2 separate regions of the Homo sapiens genome follow, and region 2 is linked to region 1. Evidence: promoter capture Hi-C in 16 types of primary human blood cells and fetal thymus (Javierre and others, 2016). All regions are on one chromosome and are shown on one strand. Each heading gives the region's core, a stretch centred on a gene start or on the middle of the fragment in contact. The rest is flanking DNA. Distances are from core to core; before and after follow the strand shown. Region 1 holds the start of SELENOT (selenoprotein T). Region 2 overlaps MED12L (mediator complex subunit 12L).

Region 1 (6,501 bases), core at 1,864-4,363:
TGGGCTGCTATAACAGAATAACTGAGATTGGGTAATTAATAAAGACAGAGATTTATTTCTTATAGTTCTGGAAGCTGAAAATTCCAAGATCAAGGGCTCCACATCTTATGGGGGCTTTGTGTTGTTATCCAATGGAGGAAGGTAAATGTGCAGGAGAGTGCAAGAGTGAAAGAGCAACAGATAGAAATCGAAGCCTTAAGCCCTTTCATAATTGGCATTAATCCATTCATGAGGGTGGAGCCCTCCCATTAGGCCCCATCTCCCAACACTGTTACATTGGGCATTAAGTTTCCAACATATGCTTTTTGGGGGACATATTCAAACCATAGCATCCCTCTTGCTGCAATTAATGATAAACAAAATTTTTCAATTACTGGTGTGTTCCTGGTCTTAAAAGTCTTTGACTTGTCCTAAAAGACACATCAACCAATGACAATGTATAAATTTCATTTTGATTCTGATTTTAACAAATGAACAGTAGGAAAATAAGTAGTTATTGAGACCACAGGATATTTGAACACTGACTAATATTACGCAATTACTATTTTTTAAAGGTGAGACAATGATACTGTGTGTCAGGCCTCTGAGCAAGGCCGTACTTCCAAAGGAAGTGGAGTCTCACTGCAACAGCCATCACAAGGCATCAGATCTCACTGCTCAAGGCAACGCTTATGCTGATAAGGTAGCTAAAAAGCAGCTAGCATTCTAACTTCTATCCTTCATGGCAGTTTTTCTCCTTCTCATCTGGTCACTCCCACCTACTCCCCCACTGAAACTTCCGCCTATCAATCTCTTCCCACACAAGGCAAATGGTTCTTGGACCAAGGAAAATATCTCCTTCCAGCCTCACAGGCCCATTCTATTCTGTCGTCATTTCATAACCACTTCCATGTAGGTTACAAGCTGCTAACCCGTCTCTTAGAACCTCTCATTTCCTTTCCATCGTGGAAATCTATCCTCAAGGAAATCACTTCTCAATGTTCCATCTGCTATTCTACTACCCTGCAGGGATTGTTCAGGCCCCCTCCCTTCCCTACACATCAAGCTCGGGGATTTGCCCCGCCGAGGACTGGCAAATTGACTTTACTCACATGCTTCAAGTCAGGAAACTAAAATACCTCTTGGTTTGGGTAGACATTTCACTGGGTGGGTAGAGGCCTTTCCCACAGGGTCTAAGAAGGCCACCGCGGTCATTTCTTCCCTTCTGTCAGACATAATTCCTCAGTTTGGCCTTCCCACCTCCTCTCTTTCCTTGAAAATCACTGAAGCCTCGACTTACTCACTGCTGAAAAAGGAGGACTTTGTATATTTTTAAATGAAGAGTGTTGTTTTTACCTAAATCAATCTGGCCTGGTATATGACAACATAAAAAAACTTAAGGATAGAGATAGAGCCCAAAAACTCTCCAACCAAGCAGACAACAACGTTGAACCCCCTTGGACACTCTCTAATTGGATGTCCTGGGTACTCCCAATTCTTAGTCCTTTAATACCTATTTTTCTCCTTCTTTTATTCGGACCTTGTGTCTTTCATTTAGTTTCTCAATTCATACAAAACTGCATCCAGGCCATCTCCAATAATTCTATACGACAAATGCTCCTTCTAACAACCCCACAATATCACCCCTTACCCCCAAATCTTTCTTCAGTTGAATCTCTCCCACTGTGGGTTCCCACGCCGCCCCTAATCTCGCTCGAAGCAGCCCTGAGAAACATCGCCTATTATCTCTCCATACCACCCCCAAAAATTTTCGCTGCCCCAACACTTTACCACTATTTTGTTTTATTTTTCTTATTAATATAAGAAGACAGGAATGTCAGGCCTCTGAGCCTAAGCTAAGCCATCATATCCCCAGTGACCTGCACATATACATCCAGATGGCCTGAAGCAACTGAAGATCCACAGAAGTGAAAATAGCCTTAACTGATAACATTCCACCATTGTGATTTGTTTCTGCCCCACCCTAACTGATCAATGTACTTTGTTGATCAGTAATCTCCCCCACCCTTAAGAAGGTTCTTTGTAATTCTCCCCACCCTTGAGAATGTACTTTGTGAGATCCAACCCCTGCCCCCAAAATATTGCTCTTAACTCCACCGCCTATCCCAAAACCTATAAGAACCAATGATAATCCCACCACCCTTTGCTGACTCCCTTTTCGGACTCGGCCCGCTTGCACCCAGGTGAAATAAACAGCTGTGTTGCTCACACAAAGCCTGTTTGGTAGTCTCTTCACACGGACATGTGAAACACTGTGGTCAATTTTTTTTCTTTTTAATAATAATTCTTTTTTAGAAATATGTGCTTAAATAATTGTAAGCCAGGCATAGTTGCCTGTGCCTGTATTCCTAACCACTTGGGAAGCTGAGGCAGGACTGCTTGAGCCCAGGGGTGTGAGGCTGCAGTAAGCTATGATCACGCCACTGAACTCCAGCCTGGGTGACAGTGAGACCGTGTTTAAAAATATATATATACAGATGAAATGATATGATGTCTGAGATTTGCTTCCAAATATGCCTAGGAAGGGAAGAAGTGTTTAGAGATATAGACAAATCAAGATTGTCAAAATGTATAGTAACTGTTAAAGCTTGCTAAGGTAGTTATTCTATTTTTGGATATGTTTGGAATTGTCCAAAGGTTTCCTAAAACTTATGTTTAATATTCTTTCAGGAGAAAGCAATATTGTAAGATCAAAGAAAAGGCCATAACAGCGCACCCAAAAAATTTCAGCATTACCATTCTGAGGGTCAGGAGTCTCCTCCCTTCCATCCGCCAACACTTGAATCAGGACTATAAAGTAGGTGTTTCCAAGTCTCAGGCAGGTAAATGGATAAATTGCAAAACTGGATGCAGAACTCACATCTGCCTCATACATAGGCCCTGTGACACCCCACCAGCTCCTTTGCTCCCTTTCTGCCTTTCTCATGCCGTCCCAGAGTCTTGCACACTACCAAGATGGTGGTGAGTCAGGACAGTGAAACAGGTCGGCTCTTCACTCCAGGAGTGTGCGCGGGCGCCGGGCCGCGCAGGCGCATTACTGCTCCCCTCCCCCGACCTTGGCTGATCGCGCCTGCGCAGTGGGGAGCAGCTCGCTCCTGGGCTTTGGGCTGGCTGCAGTCTGTCTGAGGGCGGCCGAAGTGGCTGGCTCATTTAAGATGAGGCTTCTGCTGCTTCTCCTAGTGGCGGCGTCTGCGATGGTCCGGAGCGAGGCCTCGGCCAATCTGGGCGGCGTGCCCAGCAAGAGATTAAAGATGCAGTACGCCACGGGGCCGCTGCTCAAGTTCCAGATTTGGTGAGTATGTGCACTGGGCCCCGGCCACCCCGCCGCGCCTCTGCTCGGCGCCATTGGCTACGCGAGGCCCCGGCTTCGCGGCCTAAATGGCCGCATCTTCGCTGGCCTCGTAGAACTGTGCCGGCGCCCTTCCACAGCCAGCCTTCTCGCGGCCCCTTAGCGCGGTCAGGCCGCCCTCCTTTTCCAGGTATAACTGCTCACTTGTTTTTTGCCTCCTAGAACAGTGGGAATGGGGAAGGAGGGCGCGAGAAGGTTAAACGCTGAAAGGCGAAGACTGGGGGACACCTGTTAGTACGGAGGACTGGTTGGCGGCGTCACGCCATAGCCACCCCGGCTGCCTGCGGAGATGGGGATGAGTAGGCGCCGCGTCGGCGGAGGAGCGCCAACCGTTTGTCAGTTCACTTTTTCTGCCCTCTTTTCCGGGGTAATGCCGGGCGGCTTCGCTGCCTGGCTAGATGAAGGTTAATTCGGGTCATTGGAGAGGATCCGGGAGTGACAGACGCCGTTTTTCTCCTGAACTTGCTGGGGGGACTGTTGAGTTTGCGAATGGGGCGTCTGACAGCTGGAGGGGGTGGAAGGAAGGTCTGGGGATGCTGGTTCTGTTTGCCATTTCCAAAGTGTCAGAAAAGGAGCACGTTGTTCTTCTAAACATTGACAGTTCGCTCGCATTCCCTCCTCACCTGCCTCCCAGGAGTTGCCTGCTCTGGCATCTCTTTCTACCTTTCAGTTGTCTTGTGTATCCAGCAGATCTCGGCAGTTTTCGACAGTGTTCTTTAAATGATTTTGTTTTTAACCTAATCGTTAGAAGCAGGGCAATGATGCATTTTATACGGTAAGTGGGGTTGCGGGTGGGGATTGAAAGGCTCTGAAGATGGGGGAAAAAACACCAAAATTGTAAAATTATAGAAATGAGAATCTTACACCTCCAAAGATGACATTTTCTCAGGATAAACCGACCATCCCAGAATAGCCAGATTAGTAAATCATCAGAGTCCGGATACATTGGAATGTTGGTGTTGGACATCATTCATTTAAAACCTTCTTTTAAGAACTTCATGTATTAGTATATTAAAGTTTTGATTTTCTACTTCTCCAACTAGCTTTTTACTTACTCACTGAAGACCAAGCAAACCTTTAAAATAATTTTTAAAAATCGGCTTAAGGTGATGTTTGAGTTAGAAAATAAGATGGTGAGACTTTATTTTTTTGAGTGAAAACTAAAACATTGCAATTTCTCCTGATTAAAAACAAACAAGGCCGGGCTCGCTGGCTCACGCCTGTAATCCCAGCACTTTGGAGGCCGAGGCTAGCGGATCACCTGAGGTCGGGAGTTCGAGACCAGCCTGACCAACATGGAGAAACCCCCATCTCTACTAAAAATACAAAAATTAGCCTGGCGTGGTGGCGCATGCCTGTAATCCCAACTACTTGGGAGGCTGAGGCAGGAGAATCGCTTGAACCCGGGAAGCGGAGGTTGCGGTGAGCCGAGAACGCGCCATTGCACTCCAGCCTGGGCAACAAGAGCGAAACTCCGTCTCAAAAAAAAAAAAAAAAACCTCCCTGTACAATGTACTATGTTTCTGGAATATATCATCTTTCATGTAATACTGCAAATGGGAGAATGGTTTATCCATTAACTTTTTTCCTTAATTTTTAAATTAGAAGGTGGTAATCATCTTACTAACCTAAAGATTGTTAAGGGTTGTGATACTTACGGATTTAAGTGTTAAAAAATTGCAGTTTTCAAATTATTTAATTTTTCTGTATCCTACTTTTATCTCTTGGTTGTATTTTTGCTTTTCCAAAATACCCCTTTTACGTTTGCTTTTTTTGGAACACTTGTCACAATAATTTACCAGGTGTATCTTCCACCAAGGCTATTCATAGCAAGGTTTTCAAAATGTGTAAACAAACGTAGGGAAGGGCATTCAGTCCTTCAAATTAAACTTAAAAAAAAAGTAGTAAGTACTTCAGTTAAACTTTTGATACTTTGTTTTTCTTTGTTTTTAAGTACAGACCTGTCCCAAAAGTCTAATAATTTTCTTTTACAGTCACTCTGAGCATGTTATATAACAAAAATGCTTCCATTTAAAAAATTATTTTTATTTTTATTTTTCTGACACTATCCACCGGAGATCATTTTTTGTTTAATCTGTAGATGGGAAATAACGTTATTAATAAGACCCACCAAATACAGATCAACTTAGCTTGTTGTTTGTTGCTTTTCCCCCCAGAGATTAATCTGTTTATGGTAAAGTGAATATTGGGTTTCTGGTTTTGCTAGAATCTTGTGGACATTAATTTGCAAGTTTGTTTGAGAAAGGACAGGAAGCTAATACGTTTGAGGATAAACATGAGAATTTTAAAATTCCATTTGAAGTCAGTATTATAAAATGCAGCTTTTCATTAATTACCACTGCTAACAATCAAAAGAGAACTATTTTACCTTCATTTCCACTGACTTTTTCCCCTTATAGTGATCATGAGTATTTTATCAAAAATAACTATACCTCAATATATCACCTGGTAATTGTACCACTTTTGCAATTGTTAGTCAACACAATAGCAACATAGTGCTGAGAGATCAAGCTTGTAGAGTAGCTTACGACAGAGTTTCCTATTCTCGTTTTTTTTTTTCCTTTCTTTCTTCCTTTTTTTTTTTTTTTGCTGAGACAGAGTCCCGCTGTGTCACCCAGTTTGGAGTGCAATGGCATGATCACGGAGCCTTGACTTCCTGAGTTCCGATAATCCTCCCACCACAGCCTCCCAAGTAGCTGGGACTGCAGACGCGCACCACCACGCCTGGCTAATTTTCATATTTTTTGTAGAGACCTGGTCTTGCCTTGTTGCCCAGGCTGTGTGTAATACCTGCTGTATGCCAGGAATTAAGCATGCTAAAGATGTGACCATCTCAAGAAGTCTACCAGACTGGCACAGTATTACTTGTGTATCTGAGTCTGTGGTTTATTATGTTGATTGAGCAATATAATTAGATACTTTTGATTATATTGGCTTCATACTTGGAAAAAAATTTATTCTGCTTATTTGGACGTTTAACACTTAACATAGAAAAAGGAAGTTCTCTAATCAGAGCTTAAAATTCCATTGTTTTTGAGACAGTGTTGCTTTGTTGCCCAAGCTAGAGTGCAGTGGTGTGATCTCAGCTCACTGCAACCTCTGCCTCCTGGGCTCAAGAGATTCTCATGCCT
Region 2 (7,338 bases), core at 145-2,644, 530 kb after region 1:
TGAGGGAGAGTACGCCAGAAATAATGCATGTTCGGTTTCAGATATTTTTAGAGTTGAATTAAGTTTCATTTTTAAGAGAACAAGATTGTTCAGCTGCCTTAAATATTTTGAGCTCACCAGAGAAAATTATTTAAAACAGGCTAGCTAATACTTAAAAATGAAAAAGTAAAACTCACATTGAGTTATGCAATTGAAGTCTTTGAACAGATTAGGAAATATGACTTTATAGTAAATAACGGAATTTTGTACATTTATTTATAGGAATTTTCCCCATGAGGAGTCTTATTGTTGCTGAATCAACTAATAATAACTACAGCATTTATTGCTGTTATTGCTGTCACTGTTAACAGCATTTCTTGAGCACTTATGGAATCCCCGGTATTGTGATAAGCAGGGATACGGTGCTAACTGCATTTCAAGGTTGAATCAGCTCCCGATGTGTGCTGGGTAATGATCTAGGTTGTTTGGAGAAGCTTGTCAGCCATGGGAATGCCCCATCCCTTGCTGTTGTGGGGTTGTTTTTTTTTTTTTTTTGGCCTGTTTGAAAATGGTCAGTCCCTCACCAGGTCTATTGGCTCTCTGCCACGGTTCTTCTGTTGTGCAGTGATACAGTGTTCCCCATTTCATTAGTAAATGTTTGCTGGGTTCTATGTATATTTTGTCCGTTTTATGACTTATTATTCAGATAGCCTGTGAAAGAGATACGTTATTCTCATTTCGTGGATGAGGATGGTGATGTGCAGGTGGTGCACAGAACCCCTCAGCGTAAGTGTCCAAACTTGGCTCCAGAGCCTGTGCTGGACACCACTGGTCAGTGAGGACAAGAGTGTGACAGTGTAATCACTGCCCTCTAGGTATTTGCAGTATGAGTAGGGGACATGCATCCAAACAATCAAATATTAGAGAAGGAAGACTTCATAGTGACAGGAAGAAAATACAGAGGAAGTCTTAAGGAATAAGCCACTGAGGGAACTTGGGACATCCAGGAGATTCACAGAGGAAGTGACTTAGGTGTATACTTTTGCAAGAAGAGACGCTTCCTAGGAGGACACAGCTGGAGTGGGCTGTTGTTCAGGGAAGGGCATTTCTGACAGAAGGATGAAGTCTGCAGAGAAATACGTTATCAAATAGTTTGACTTGTTGCACCTCCAGGATTTAACTTCAGCTTGAGCATCAGTTACCAGTGGGGAGGTGCTGAAAGCCTGTGTGAAGGTTTGTTTGCCAGAGTGAGATATGTGAGTTCCCTCTGGTGCATGATGAAAAGCCATGGAAGGGTTTATTATTACTATTATTGTTATGACTCTTTCCCTCAGTTTCTTGTCTGTAAAAAAATAAGGATAATTGACAGTACTTATTTATTTATTTATTTTTATTTGAGATGGAGTCTCCTCTGTTGCTCAGGCTGGAGTGCATTGGTGTGATCTCGGCTCACGCCAACCTCCGCTCTCAGGTTCAAGCAATTCTCCCACCTCAGCCTCCCAAGTAGCTGGGATTACAGGCACCTGCCATCGTGCTCCTCTAATTTTTGTAGAGACGAGGTTTCACCATGTTGGCCAGGTTGGTCTTGAACTCCTGACCTCAGGTGATCTGCCCACCTTGGCCTCCCAAAGGGCTGGGATTACAGGCGTGAGCTACCACACCTGGCCTGATAGTACTTTTTAAGAATGAAATGAATCGATACCTTTAAAGTGTTTAGAACAGTGACTGGCATACAGTAAATGTAGACCATTGATAATATGCGACAACTGCTACTTAGAACTGCTGTTACCAGCCAGTATTTATTGATTATCCTGTGTTACTCCGTTGGGAACTTTGCAGACTTTATCTGTAACCTTGCAATGTAGGTTTCATTATTCCATTTTGTGTATGAGGGACCTGAGTCTCAGAGAAGTTAAGTAACTTGCTGGCCTAGATGGAGTTGGATCCCTGCCCAGGCACCTGCCACTAGAGTGCCTGCTCCTCACTCCTCGCTGTGAGGTGATAGCTGCTGGTGGCCTGTGTGTGGTGTGGGTCTGGGCCACTGGAGGCAACAAGCATCTCTAGGTGGAAAGATGCTGGCAGGAAGCAGGCTGCGGGACTGGTGGCTCTGAGCAGCATCTGAGGAGTCAGAACTCTTGTTCTCATGGGTGCTATGGGGAACAGGAGGAGCAAAGCAAAGTCCAGGGTGCCATGGCAACTAGAGAAAGAAATATGAAACTGCTTGCAAGATGAGCAGCCTTAATTCTGCCTAGGAATTTTTGGGTATTCAATATGGTGAAAAGTGACAAGACATATCATGCGCATGAGGTCTTTTTTGGGGGAACAGATAGATTCAAAGAAGCTTAAAATGCTTCGTGGTTAAACTGCCTGGGGCACTGCTCTGTTTACCCCTAGTCATTTCCTCTGTGCCACCTGAGGTTTTGTGGGGATTTGAGTCAGATGAGAGACTTTTCTTGGTTGACTATACTCTTGTAACCACTATCCTTATCGCTCCCAAAATACAAAGAATAAACAGCCACCCTTCTTTCACAGTGGGTAATTAATTTGTGACATATTCACTGAGCCATTTGGACTGCAAAAATAAGTCCTGCTAAACTCATAATTGACAGTCTGGTTTCTTATCTAAGCCTACCAGCTTACTTGCAGTTTGGGTCTGTGAAGACATTGCATACTAACTTTTTTGATTCCAGGGACAAGCGTTTAGTTTTGTCAAGATTGCCTCCACATTTTCACAGTGTTCCTTCTATCTCATTTGTCATAAAGGCGATATCTGCCTTGTTTATGCTGAAAGTAATCCTGAAGATTGGACAGAAGTGCTTGTATAAGCTTAGTTTAAATTCACACTTTGCTTAGGCATGAAAAATAGGTTTTAACCGGTGAGGTAACTCTGGCTATCTGGTAAAAACCATTCTCCAATAGAAGGAATGGGGCTATTGGGGGTGAGACTTTGGTACCTGCAGCTATTCCATTCCTCAATAATCTTTTACCTAAAAGTTTTAACATCTGTTGATGAACTGAGCCTGGAATAGTTATTTCTTTGGGAATGGCAAGATGTAGGCATTCTTCAGTAAATGAGGGCTTTCTCTCATGTGATAAATTACAGTTCTTTCTAAAAAAGGCAGAATAAATGCTAAATTCTTTTCCTTTGATTTCAATTTTGGGAGTAGAAATTGTTGCATCTCCACAGTGGTGAAAAATGTTTCTCTATTTTTTTATTTATTAAAAAAGTTTAGGCTGTGTGCGGTGGCTCACACCTGTAATTCCAGCACTTTGGGAGGCTAAGGTGGGTGGATCACGAGGTCAGGAGATCAAGACCATCCTGGCCAACATGGTGAAACCCCATCTCTACTAAAAATACAAAAATTAACTGGGCATGGCGGCATGTGCCTGTAATCCCAGCTACTCAGGAGGCTGAGGCAGGAGAATCGCTTGAACCTGGGAGGCGGAGGTTGTAGTGAGCTGAGATCGCACCACTGCACTCCAGCCTGGTAACAGAGGTAGACTCCGTCTCAAAAAAAAAAAGAAAAAAAAAAAAAAGAACGAAAAAAAGTTTATTTTTGATCATTGTTATGGGCTCATGAAGTTTTATTTATTCTGTATTTTACAACCAAGTACACTTCTGTTAAATTTCGTGTTAAAATTGCCCCAAAATTGGCCAGAGACCCTTCTAGCTCCTTGTAAACTTTTGACATGACACCATTTGTCATGGGACATCTCCTTGCTTTCTGGCACAGAAAGATGTCCCAGGCGCTTGTAATTTTCCTGCCTCAGATCTCCAAAGAGCCTTTTGTCTAAGGAACTCTGCTTCTTTCTAGTGGGGAATGGTATTTAGAAAGCAAGATCTGGGTGCTAAAGGTGCTCATTGCTACTGGGATGTTGTGTCTAGGCCCCATCAGTGGGTAAATGGATGGAGACACACATATCTGCATGTGTGTGCATGTATGTGGGGGTTTTCCTATTTCCAGCTTATCTTTAGCATTTCCTATTTAACAAGAAAGAGTTTTTAGTAATTTCTTCAATTTTATGTTTATTTCATTTCTATTACATGAACAATCAAATGATTTCTAGTAAATGAACATGGTTACTTACCTGCTTCATCTTGCTACAAACATATTGGCTTGAGAATTATAATCTGATACATTAAAAGTATGTGAAATTTTTTTTTTTTAAGCTTTACACTGTGTTTCACTTAAAATGATTCTCTCTGCAGTAAGGTACACTGTTTCAGTTTGTTTTCCATTTTAGGGTTTGATTTTTTTCCCTTATGAACTAATTTTATATTTTGAATATGTAATACCTTGACATATTCAAGAGTCAAAACTATATAAAGATGTGCAGAAGTTTTGCTTCTATCTCCATCTTTTCACACAATTCCCTTTACCCCATCTTCAGATGTAACCATTTCTTACTAGTTTTTAATCTTCCAGTTTTTATTTTTGCAAAAAATATGCAAATACTTATATCTTCTTATTTCTTCTTTCTCCTTACATAGTAATTAGCATACTATATATACTGTTGGATACCTTGCCTTTTTTTTTAACTTAACAATATCCTAGTGATTACTTGATGTTCTCTGTTCCTTTTTGTGGCCTCTTAGTCCTTCATTGTGTGGATGTACCACAGTTTGGCCAGTCCCTTGTTTTTATTTCAAAAATGTTAAAAAAACTTTTTAGATTTACAGAGAAATTGAGAAGATAGTACAGAGTTCCCATGCATTCTCTCACCCTTGCAAACAGTTTCTCCCATTATTAACATTTTGCATTAATATGATACATTTATTATAATTAATGAACCAATATTGATTATTATAAAAGTCAGTCCATACTTTGGATTTCCTTAGTTTTAACCTAATGACCCTTTTCCATTTCAGGATCTTATTCAGGATATTATATTACATTTAGTTCTCATATCTCCCTAGGCTTCTCTTGGCTGTGACATTTTCTCAGTTTCAGTGATGTTTGACAGTTTTGAGGAGTACTAGTCAGGTATATTGTAGGGTTATCTTCTGTTGGAATTTGTCTGATATTTTTCTTATGGTTAGACCAGGGTTACAGAAGTCAAATGTCATTCTCATCATGTTACATCAAGGGTACATGCTATCACCATGACTTATGACTATTGATGTTAACCTTGATCACCTGGCTGAGGTAGCACTTACCAGGTTTTACAGTGTAAAGTTATTTCCCTCCCATCCCTTTCCACACTTTACTCTTTGGAAGGAAGTAATATGGACAGTCCACACTTAAGAAGTGGGGAGTTAACCATCCCCCTCCTTGAGGGCAGAGTATCTACTTATTTAAAATTCTTCTGCATGGGTGATTTGTCTCTTATCTACCTACCTACCTACCTACCTGCCTACCTACCTACTATTCTTTCATTCATTAATGTATGTATGTATTCAAGCATTTCTATCAGTATTGATTCATAGATGTTTACTTCATCTTTTGGTTTATAATACTCTATTTTGTTCCACCTTTGTCCATTGAGAGCTCTTTCAGCTGTGTCCTGTGTCCATTTGACATACCCATCTTAGTTTGCTTTTGTTTTTGTCTTTCTAAGTACTTTCTTCTTTTCTGGCACTAGAAGGTGCATTCCATGTTCATTGTGTATATTTTCTGTTCCAATCCTATAATGAGCCATTTCTCCAAGGAGCCCTGGTTGTCTTTAAAGGAGAGTGGTATTAGAAACCAAGAGTTGAGCACAAAGAGTGCTTATTGCTACTTGGGGTGTCACTGCTTCTAGGCCCTCTCAGTTGACAGATTAAGGAGATGCATGTGTGTGGACTAACTCATGTATGTACATATATTTATAAATATTTTTATATGTGATTGTGTTATCTCTTGAGCTAAACATGAATTCTTATTGATGCCTGGTAAGTGCATTTTTCCATTTTGTTAGATTCTGCCAAGTTTTCCTTCATAGTATTAACATGGACTAGACCTACTCAAGTTGTGAGAGGAGAATATTGGCGGGACAGGCATAGGAGAAATATGTAAGCAAGGTCTTGATGGGAGGTGAAAGAGAGCTGAATGTTCATCATCTTCCATGTAGGAAGCCAGTGGGTAATGCTTACAATCAGGAAGTAGGACTGTAAGCATGTTATTTAGAGGTAGAGGTAAATACAACAGATGAAAGAGTTGAAAATAATTTGCTTTTGGAGAATAATTGAGGAGTTTATGGACAATAGGCTGTTGTGTTCACAATAAATCATATAGAACTATTGGACTCTTTAAGACATGCACAAGAGGAGCTTTCATATAAACAAAAGTTAGCTAAGCCTAATCGCAGTCCCAAATTATTACTGCCTATTTTTTGTTGTCATTGGTACTTTTCCTGGAAGATATCTTGCTGTAAGAATGTTTTATGAAAAAGATTTGGAGGAAGTTTAAGGAATGCCATCTTACCCAGTAGCATTACAATTTAGTTATTCTTAGATAAATTGCAAGAGCTTACTTTTCTCTAAGCTAACTACTTGCTTTTTGGGACCTTAACTTAAATGAAGTAGATGTTCTTTGTAAAAATTGGAAGACCTCTAATATTTTTCCAGGTATGTAGCTTTTTAGTTAATTGAATATGCAAATTTTCCCTATTTACAGACCCTTTATTAACGTAAAATAACATAAAATTTACCATTGTAACCAACAATAAGTGTATGGTACAGCAGTATTAACTCAATGCACATTGTTGTACAACTGATTTGTAGAACTTTTTTCTCTTGCAAAACTGAAACTGCCCATTGAACAACTCCCCTTTCTCCCCCTCCACCAGCCTCTGGCTACTGCCATCATACTTTGCTGATTTACAGAAACTTTAAAAAGTTCTAATCAAGTTTAATATGCTGCACTGTAACTCTATGTGCCCGATTGTTGCCCTGTGGAAACATATTTCAGCTTTTCCAAAGTAAAAATATTATACCCTCTTCCAAGTTAGAATGCTGGTGTGTGGTTGTGGTGGTTGTATATTTATGTTTAATTAATTTTTTGGTGAAATCAAAGAAAATGTATGCCCATGATAGTTTTTGAATTTATTTATTTATTATTTATTTTTTGAGACAGAGTCTTGTTCTGTCGCCCAGGCTGGAGTGCAATGGCCTGGTCTTGGCTCATTGCAACCTCTGCCTCCCGGGTTCAAGTCATTCTCCTGCCTCAGCCTCCCGAGTAGCTGCGATTACAGGCACGTGCCTCCACACGCAGATAATTTTGTTTGTTTGTTTGTTTGTTTGTTTGTTTGTTTTTTGAGAGGGAGTCTCGCTCTGTTGCCCAGGCTGGAGTGCAGTGGCACGATCTCGGCTCACTGCAAACTCCGCATCCCAGGTTCACGCCATTCTCCTGCCTCAGCCTCCCGAGTAGCTGGGACTAC

The links. The method cuts DNA at HindIII sites, captures the fragments that hold promoters and counts their contacts. A CHiCAGO score of 5 or more calls a contact.
Region 2: a contact is called between a fragment that was not itself captured here and the fragment with the promoter of SELENOT in region 1, in 3 of 17 cell types (megakaryocytes, erythroblasts and naive CD8 T cells). The highest score is 7.4, in megakaryocytes.

The regions. Positions count from the first base shown.
Region 1 is chr3:150,600,208-150,606,708 of GRCh38, forward strand. It overlaps SELENOT (selenoprotein T), which reads left to right and starts at 3,114. Exons shown (of 6, transcript NM_016275.5): 1 at 3,114-3,292. The coding sequence starts at 3,156. It overlaps LOC124900547 (a long non-coding RNA gene), which reads right to left and starts at 2,976. Exons shown (of 2, transcript XR_007096128.1): 1 at 2,737-2,976. RefSeq lists enhancers at 2,903-2,982, 3,103-3,252, 3,225-3,998, 3,273-3,572. The HindIII fragment of the contact is 3,294 bases long and covers 2,586-5,879 here.
Region 2 is chr3:151,133,671-151,141,008 of GRCh38, forward strand. The region is part of intron 5 of MED12L (mediator complex subunit 12L); the gene reads left to right. Among named protein-coding and RNA genes, the nearest start is that of MED12L, 52 kb to the left of the region's middle. The HindIII fragment of the contact is 1,847 bases long and covers 472-2,318 here.